Regions from separate parts of the Homo sapiens genome. Here all the other regions are linked to region 2. Evidence: promoter capture Hi-C in 16 types of primary human blood cells and fetal thymus (Javierre and others, 2016). All regions are on one chromosome and are shown on one strand. Each heading gives the region's core, a stretch centred on a gene start or on the middle of the fragment in contact. The rest is flanking DNA. Distances are from core to core; before and after follow the strand shown. Region 1 holds the start of YTHDF3 (YTH N6-methyladenosine RNA binding protein F3). Region 2 holds the start of RAB2A (RAB2A, member RAS oncogene family). Region 3 has its middle 6.2 kb from the start of UBXN2B.

Evidence for each region. The method cuts DNA at HindIII sites, captures the fragments that hold promoters and counts their contacts. A CHiCAGO score of 5 or more calls a contact.
Region 1: a contact is called between a fragment that was not itself captured here and the fragment with the promoter of RAB2A in region 2, in 11 of 17 cell types (non-activated CD4 T cells, naive CD4 T cells, naive CD8 T cells and 8 more). The highest score is 16.8, in non-activated CD4 T cells.
Region 3: a fragment that was not itself captured here is called in contact with the fragment with the promoter of RAB2A in region 2 in 3 of 17 cell types (total CD8 T cells, non-activated CD4 T cells and total CD4 T cells); the score reaches 6.9 in total CD8 T cells.

The regions. Positions count from the first base shown.
Region 1 is chr8:63,168,136-63,170,835 of GRCh38, forward strand. YTHDF3 (YTH N6-methyladenosine RNA binding protein F3) reads left to right here and starts at 486. Exons shown (of 5, transcript NM_152758.6): 1 at 486-766; 2 at 1,252-1,276. The coding sequence starts at 743. YTHDF3-DT (YTHDF3 divergent transcript) reads right to left here and starts at 307. Exons shown (of 1, transcript NR_102684.1): 1 at 1-307. RefSeq lists enhancers at 29-248, 449-768 and a silencer at 849-1,088. The HindIII fragment of the contact is 4,463 bases long and covers 1-2,700 here.
Region 2 is chr8:60,515,704-60,518,403 of GRCh38, forward strand. It overlaps RAB2A (RAB2A, member RAS oncogene family), which reads left to right and starts at 1,284. Exons shown (of 8, transcript NM_002865.3): 1 at 1,284-1,550. The coding sequence starts at 1,505. LOC124901949 (a long non-coding RNA gene) reads left to right here. Exons shown (of 3, transcript XR_007060922.1): 3 at 1-1,095. RefSeq lists enhancers at 432-1,292, 2,528-2,700 and a silencer at 868-1,737. The HindIII fragment of the contact is 4,226 bases long and covers 1-2,700 here.
Region 3 is chr8:58,403,811-58,406,510 of GRCh38, forward strand. No RefSeq gene overlaps it. Among named protein-coding and RNA genes, the nearest start is that of UBXN2B, 6.2 kb to the right of the region's middle. The HindIII fragment of the contact is 3,704 bases long and covers 1-2,700 here.

The DNA.
Region 1 (2,700 bases), core at 23-2,522, 2.7 Mb after region 2:
CAGCCAGCCGTCCCCACGGCTTTGGGCAGCCGCCGAAGGCTCCTGCTAGGCCCGGCTGGCTCACCGGGAAGTTCCCTGCCTCCGTCCCGTCAGCCTCCAGGAGGGCGCCGCCGGCCGCCGTGACTTCAGCAAGGCACTACTATCTCCGTCAGCCGCCGCCTCGGCCATCTTCCTGCCCGGAGTGCAACAAAATCCGGCTCTGGCCAGCCTTCCAGCTGACGCCACTCTGCCAGGGCCCTGCAGCCTCGGAGCGGGATAGAAGGAAGCCGCAGAAAAGACGCTGAAAGTTGGCGCTCGCTGACGCCCCGACGCGCTCCCTCCATGACGCATGCGCCCACCGGCCGTGAGCGCGGGTCCGGTCTCCGGTGACGTGGCGGTGAGGAGGCGGAGCCAAGATCAGCGGCGGGAGGGTGGGGGAGGAAGAGCGAGGTGAGCGCGGACGTCAGAGTGGAGAGCGGAAGGTCAGGGAGGCTCGGAGCGGAAGTGAGACTAGGGAGTCTGTCCGCCATTGTGGACCCGAGAAGCAGAGAGCGAGAGGGGGAAGAGGAGCGTGCAAGCGGAAAAGACGGGCCTCTTCCTCCGACTCCCGAGCGCGAGGCCCTCATTTTGGGTTCTCAGCGAACGGCGGCAGCGGCGGCGGCTGGAACAATCACTCGGCCAAGGGCGACAGCCAACTGCTGTGAGTGCACGGGGAGAGGCCCAGGCAGCGGCGGCGGCGGCGGCTCTCGGGTTGCGGTGAAGAATGTCAGCCACTAGCGTGGATCAGGTGAGGGAGCAGAGGCCCCAGGCTTGGCGAAGGCCCGAGCCCCGGAGCTCCACCCTCGCGCGGGGCTTCGGCTCCTCCCCGTCGCCGCCGCTGCCGGCCCCATAACGGTGCCCCGGGCGCAAGTTGCTGCGGTGTAGCTACCCGGGCCGGGGCGTGCGCCCTGGCCCCGTAGCTTGCGGGCGGGCGGGCGCGGTGCCGCGGCGGGTGGGGGCAAGGACCGGTCTTAGGGGCCTTAGGACAGATCCTGAGGGCGGCAGACATGGGGCGGAGACCGGGCGAGCTCTGGGAGACGGATTCCGAGTGGCGGGTGGGAGGTTTAAAGGCTGGGGGTGGTTGGGAAATTGGTGGCTGTGGAGGATATGGTGGGTTTTTACTCCTACGCGGATAGTCTAAAATAACTTGTCTTTGATAATGCCTTTGATTAACACACTTTTTCTTTTCTTCCTTTTTCTCCTCTTTACCGCATCTTTCGTCTTGCAACACAGAGACCTAAAGGGCAAGGAAATAAAGGTGAGTTTGGATTTTTTTTTTTCTTATTGCTCAATGTTGCCTTAATGTTACTTTTAAACTCTGTGAGGGTATTTTGTTTGTTTTTGCTCCCTCTTGGGAAAAAATGTAGGATTAGGGAAAATATTCATCATGGCTAAGGTAGCCAAGTTCTATCCAGAACTTCGGTAGTTCGTTGCTTTGAAGCCACTTTATAGAAACCAAAGTAGTACGAGAAACAGTTTCCTTGTCAGTTAAGCAGGTATTGGTGTGAACCTGGTGGTATTTCTTTGGTTTTCCAGTTTTTCTGTGTTATGTAACTTATGCCACAAAAAATTTCTACATGTGTATATAGACAAGTATATTCTTAAAGTGGACATTTTGTTTGACATGTCTGGATTACACTGGAAAATGGAAGTCTACATAGTATTCCATCACATTAATGAAAATTGTACTGTTAATCACTGATTCTATTGAAGTCAGTTGTAATGAGGCAACAACATGAGAGAGGTTAGAACTGAGTAGGCATGCCATCTTGCTCTATTGTTCTGATTGCAAGGTGTGACTCTATCTGGTATTTTATAAAGGGCTGAGAAGAAAATAGTTTGTGACATTTTTTCCAGGATTTTATAATTTTCTCTTTAGTAAAAGTACCATTGAAAGTAAAGTGTTTTTTTAAAAAGTGTGTTTTGTATTAATATGGAACAGTGCAGTCAGCTGACTGAAACATTATGACATTAGTCATGTGACATTTAGTTAAGTATAGAACAATAACTGCTTTCTTGGGATAGTGCCAATTAAATAACATCAGAGCAAATTATATATAACATTTTGTAGTGCTTGAAATTACACTAAAATTATGCTTTCTGTTGATTTCAGTAACACAGTGTTAGAAATTAAGATCTATAATAGCCTTTTAGATATAGATTGTCTTTGGTGCCCTTTAAATTCTTGTTAGGGTATTTATTTGCTATTGCAAATTTGGTGAATTTAATAGGTTTTGGATATGTAGATTAGTTTCCTCTGAATTATGGAATTTGTACATACCAGTTACATGGCACCATATTAGGTAACATTTTGTTTGTTTTCATTAAAGATGTTTTCTTGCAGTATGTAAATATTTAGACATTTTAATTTTTAAAATTTCATTTCTAGAATTTTTTTTGTTGTAAGCATAAACCTGAAATAAAAATTGGATATTGATTTATTTTAAATGAGTTTTTAAAAATTTGTGAATTTTAAAAAGAATGATCCATTAATTTCTTCTTTTGCTAGTCTACCCATTAGGAACTATGTAGACTTGGAGATTGTGAAATTGTGGTCATTATTGCCTAGCATAAATTATTTTATCCTAGATCTGTGGGGAGGTGGCACTTTGCAAAGCTATTTGAAATGCTAAGTGTTTTATGTTACCCGCTTTAAGGTAAGTACACAAGTTCTATGAGGTA
Region 2 (2,700 bases), core at 34-2,533:
CTGGATGACTGAAAAAGCAAAGTAGAAAAACAGAACATAGAACATACAGGGCCTCCAGTTGCTGTGCCTGGCGGTACATGAAACATAGTATTCAATAACTATTCTTTGAATGCACAGTCATTTTGTTTTTTCCTTTAACAGTATTTCCTAATAGGTAACTCATGAACACTGCAAAAAATGTCAAACTGCACAAAAAAATTCAGGGAAAAGTACATTTTCCCCCCAATCCCATTCCCTCCTTTCTCTTAATACCAGTTAGCTTTCCTTTCAGATTGATTATGCATATATGGGTATGTAAATGTTTTCCCACTATTTGTTACACATAAAAATTATATACAATTCATATATTACATATGGTGCATGTTATATACACACACATAAACAGATCATCTCGGTTTTGCTTAACCTAAGTCAGGCTTTTTTTTTTTTTTTTTTTTTAGAGCAGCCCTCAGAACCAGGACAGGTTCAGAGACTTTATTTATTTTTTATTTACTATTATTATTTTGAGACGGAGTCCCGCTCTGTCGCCCAGTCTGGAGTGCCGTGGTTCAATCTCGGCTCACTACAACCTCCACCTCCCAGGTTCAAGTGATTCTCCTGCCTTAGACTCCGAGTAGCTGGGATTACAGGCGAGCACCACCACGCCCGGCTAATGTATTTTTAGTAGAGACGCGGTTTCGCCATGTTGGCCAGGCTGGTCTCGAACTCCTGACCTCAGGTGAGAGCAACGTAGTACTCCACTGTGCGTGCATACCATGATTTACTTTGCAGTCCCAGATTTACGGTTTCCAATTTATAAATACTGCCATTTTCACCTTCAAGCCCCGATGCCAAACACAGAAATACCAGGCCACCCCCACCCCCTCGCCGTGTGCCTCCCACATTTTCACACACATTTTCAGGAGCCCAGGGCGCAGCCTCACACCGAACGCCGCCTCTGCCGTCCCCTCACTTGCCCCGTGCCCCCACCGCAGGGCTGAAGGCGACGGAACCGAGCCTTTGTACCCCCACCAGCCCCGTTCCCTGGCGTCTCCCGGCCGCCGGGCTCGCCCGCTCAAACGTGGCGGAACAACCGGAGCCGGGCCCCGCCCTGCTGGAAGACAGGGCGGACCGGGCAAGGCAGGCGCGGGGCGGGGCGGGGCGGGGCTCCGGCTGGCGGGGCGCGGCCAGCGTGCAGGGCTGGGCCAGCGTGCGGGGCTCCTCCCCTTTCCTCCGGCGGCGCCGGCGGCCGCAGAACTTCCGGGTCGGCGCGGAGGCGGGGCGGAGGCGCCGCGGCGGCTGTTATTGTTCGGCTGGGCTCGGTCGGGCGCTGTCTCCCTCGGCTCTGCGGGTGTCAGTTCGTCCGGCTTCCTCACAGCCCCTCACTCCCGGCGGCTGACAGCAGCAGCGGCGGCGGCGGGCGGCGCCTGGCGTTTCGAGGCTGAGCGGCACCGGGGTTGGGGCGCGGAGGAGGAGCAGCAGCGGGAGGAGGAGCCGTGTGCCCTGGCACTGAGCGGCCGCGGCCATGGCGTACGCCTATCTCTTCAAGTACATCATAATCGGCGACACAGGTGAGGGCCCCGGGCGCGGCCGGGCGGGTGTCGGCGGCCTCCGGACCCGGGCTGAGGGGCAAACGGCGTCTGGCGGTGGCGGGGACGCGGACTCCACCCGGCGCCTCCCTCCTGGCCGCGCCGCTCCATTTCCGCAGTGCTGGAGCTGGTGACGTGGGCACTGCGAGCGGCCGCGGCCTGGCCAGGCCCGGTCTGCGGCCCCCGACCCGGCCAGTCTTGCAGCTGAGGGCCGTGGCAGCCGTTTGCGACGCCCGATTCAGGAAGTGTGTGACAGGAGGGGAGGCCTAGCGCAGGGCCGCCGGGGCCCGACTCACATGACTGCACCCCACCCCCAGGGCCCCTTGCGTTAGGTCTCTTCGCGGCCCCAGGAAAAAGAAGGAGGGAAACCTAGGGGAGCAGAAGGTGTTGGGGCCCGGGTCTTGGTTCCTGACCAGTCCAACCTTCCTCCACCAGCACGCATCTATCAAGGCCTGGGCAAGGCGCTTTTTGGCGTGGGACAGGCAGCCGAGAAAGAGAAAAGGAAACCTTTAAAATATGTATTTTATATATATACATATATATAAAATATGCTTTTTTAACACCTTCAACTCTCACGTCAGAATAAGTCACATCTCATTACTTGACGGCTGGAGAATCCCTTTCGGGGTTAGGAAAGCATGAACGAGTTCTGTGGACTTTTGCCACGTGTGAACTGGGGTTATATAGTAATGTAAAGTCGTTCAGTGCTCTGGGTGTGTACTTAGGTATGTGTATGTTGAGGACGCTGATGTTTTAGATATGTCAAGTCCGGTGTCACAACTGCTAATTTTCAGGTGAGCTCATGTCCATGAGCTGAAAGAAATTCAGTTATTCTCACTTAAAATGACGTCCTAGTATATTTCACAGAAAAGTAAACAGACTCTTCGTAGATATTTTTAATACCTGTGATTTGGCATTACTTTGAATCTAATAATAAACATAAAGATTGTTTAGATGTTGCAACTATTAATATACCAGAGTCTGATTTCAGTGGTTACTCTTGCACAACTTTGGACCCTTTGCACAACTTCGGTCATGTAAGCAGCAGTTTGTAGTTGAACTAATGATGTGGCAGGTTCTATAAGTAACTAAAGAAGCATGTTGGCCGGACGCGGTGGCTCACACCTGTAAT
Region 3 (2,700 bases), core at 3-2,502, 2.1 Mb before region 2:
AAACCAAATACATGCAGTGCTTTGTGATCAAACCCAGACACAAAGGAGCAAAATATTTCTGTTGCCCCATGAGCACATTCCCAGCTGAGCTCAAACAAGGTGACATTCTGCCTTTTTATTTCAGCTTTTATACTTTAAATAAGTGTCCTTGCACATTCTATTTAGTGCCATGTTTTTCACATGTTTGTGCTTTTTGTTGGTGATTTTGCTGTTTGAGATGGCCCCCAAGGGTAGTGCTGAAGTACTGTCTGGTGTTCCTAAGTACAAGAGGCTGTGATGTCCTTATGGAGAAAATGCATGTGCTAGATAAACTTCCTTCATGCAGGAGTTATAGTGCTGGTGGCTGTGAGTTCAATGTGAGTGGATCAATGATCATATTAAACATGGGGTCTTCAACAGAAATAGACATAAAACAAGGTTATGCATTGATCAGTTGATGAAAATGTAAGAAGTTCACAGGAACCTACCCTGTATTTTCCCTAGCAGCAATGATTCAGTATTCAATAACTCAGTGTTCTCAATGGCTTTAAGGAACATAACTACTGTAAATAATGAGAATTGACTGTGTGTAAATAGTAGGTATGAGAACAGAAGATATTGAACAGCGAAAGCATATACACAGTGAGCAAATAAGAGTGGCAAAGGCAGAGCCCTAAAGAACATCATTATTTAGAGGGTGGATAGAAGATAAAATGTTAGGAGAAGCTCAAAAGGAATGGTCAGGTAGGTAAGAAGACCAATGTTAAGCAGTATCATGAGGAAATTTCAGGAAAGGTAAAATCACAAGAGTCAGAGGCTGCAAAAAGCTCCCAGGAGACACGGAGATGGTATTTTTTAACCAAAAACACAAACAAAAAAAAAAACATATGCTTTTGAGTGTAATGGACCTGAATTTAAAATTTAGTTCTGCTACTTAATAGCTGAGTGACATAAGGAAATTCATCTTATTTCTCTGATCCTCAACTACTTCTGTAAGATGGAGACAATACCTATCCCAGAAAGTTGTTGTAGATTACATGAAATAATGTGCAATCCATGAAAATTACCAACTGTAAATATTCTATTTCTATTTTTAGAATGAGATAAAAATGTTTTAAAGGATGGAACAAGGCCATTATATATTACAGTGACCTCTGATCTTGTTCTCAGTGATGTCCAGCATATGTAAAATTACACAAACGTGAGTTTCATTTAGGTTGTGAAGTTGGAGCTGGATTTGGTTTAGAAGTGCAATATAAATAGGCCTGCATTTTATACTGTCTGTCCTGTCTGTATCTAATGAAGATATCTGTTGATAGATCTTCTTATTTCTTGACTTTCCATGAATGGAAAATGGGCTTTGGAGATAGTCAAATGTGGTTTGAGTTATGGATCTGATATGGTTTGGATCTGTGCCCCCACCCAAATCTCAGGTTGAAATGTAATCTCCTGTGCTAGAGGTGGGCCCTGGTGGGAGGTGATTGGATAACAGGGGCTGCTTCTAATGGTTTAGCACTATCCCCCCAGTGCTGTTCTTGTGATAGAGTTCTCACAAGATCTGTTTGTTTAAAAGTGTGTGGCACCTCCCCACACTTCCTCCTGCTCCAGACATGTAAGATGTACCTGCTTCTCTTCCCCTTTGCCTTCTGCCATGATTATAACTTTCCTGAGGCCTCTAGAAGCCAAGCAGAAGCTGTTCTGCTACCTCTATAGCCTGCAGAACAATGAGCCATTTAGCCCCTTTTCTTTATAAATTATCCAGTCTCGGATATTTCTTTATAGCAGCACAAGAACAGACCAATACAGGATCCCTACCACCTTCATTCACTCACTCATGCAAATAGTTATTAAAAGTACATATTATGGTTCCAGGTTCTGTGTTAAGGCACTAGAGATGAAGTCCTGGCCCACATACTCCATGAGCTTAGTCTAATGGAAGGAGAAAATAAGTATAATAAAATGTTTAACATTAAGTTTCCAGTTTAAGGACCCCATAATATATATGATAGGTCAAAATGGGTGTGAGAAAGATGCTCCTGGAGAATGTTTCAAAGACGATGAATGTCATGATTCTTGAACCTCCTCACCCACTTTGAGAACAGAAAATAGAGAATCAAGGAGAGTGAGGTATGTGGTCGTAGTTCTTTGAAGAAGAATGGGGAAAGATATCACTTTCATCACAAGCCAAAAGAAAGGAGACTTCAAGGCGACCACTTGAATGTTTGTTGATATTTTTGTTCACATTAACAAGATACACATAAGATGCAAGTGAAACACAAACACCCATAGTAACTCAACAACGTGAGCAACTTCTTCCGGAATCAGCTAGTAATTTTCAAATACTAGAGGAAAATTTACATTTTTTTTCTTTTGCTATTCACAGCATAACAGCTGCAGGCACAGCATACTTTTAAGTCTTATCTGCCTCGTAAACATTTTCTCCAACAGATCCTTAAATCTCCAGTGGGCAATCAACAAAACAAGAAATCGAACTTTTATTTATGGCGTTTACCAATTTCTGAGGTGGGAATACTTACACCATGGTAGATTTCAAGCTACTAACATGTTGTCACTGAATGCGAATTGGGAAGAGGTGTGCAATAGCATCTCCACCATATAGATCCAATAGATGTAAATCCCCTCAGGAGCATAGATAATAGCAAAATGTATTCAAATAACTAGGAAATTAGAGATTTGAATATTTATTGCATGAGTTTTTTG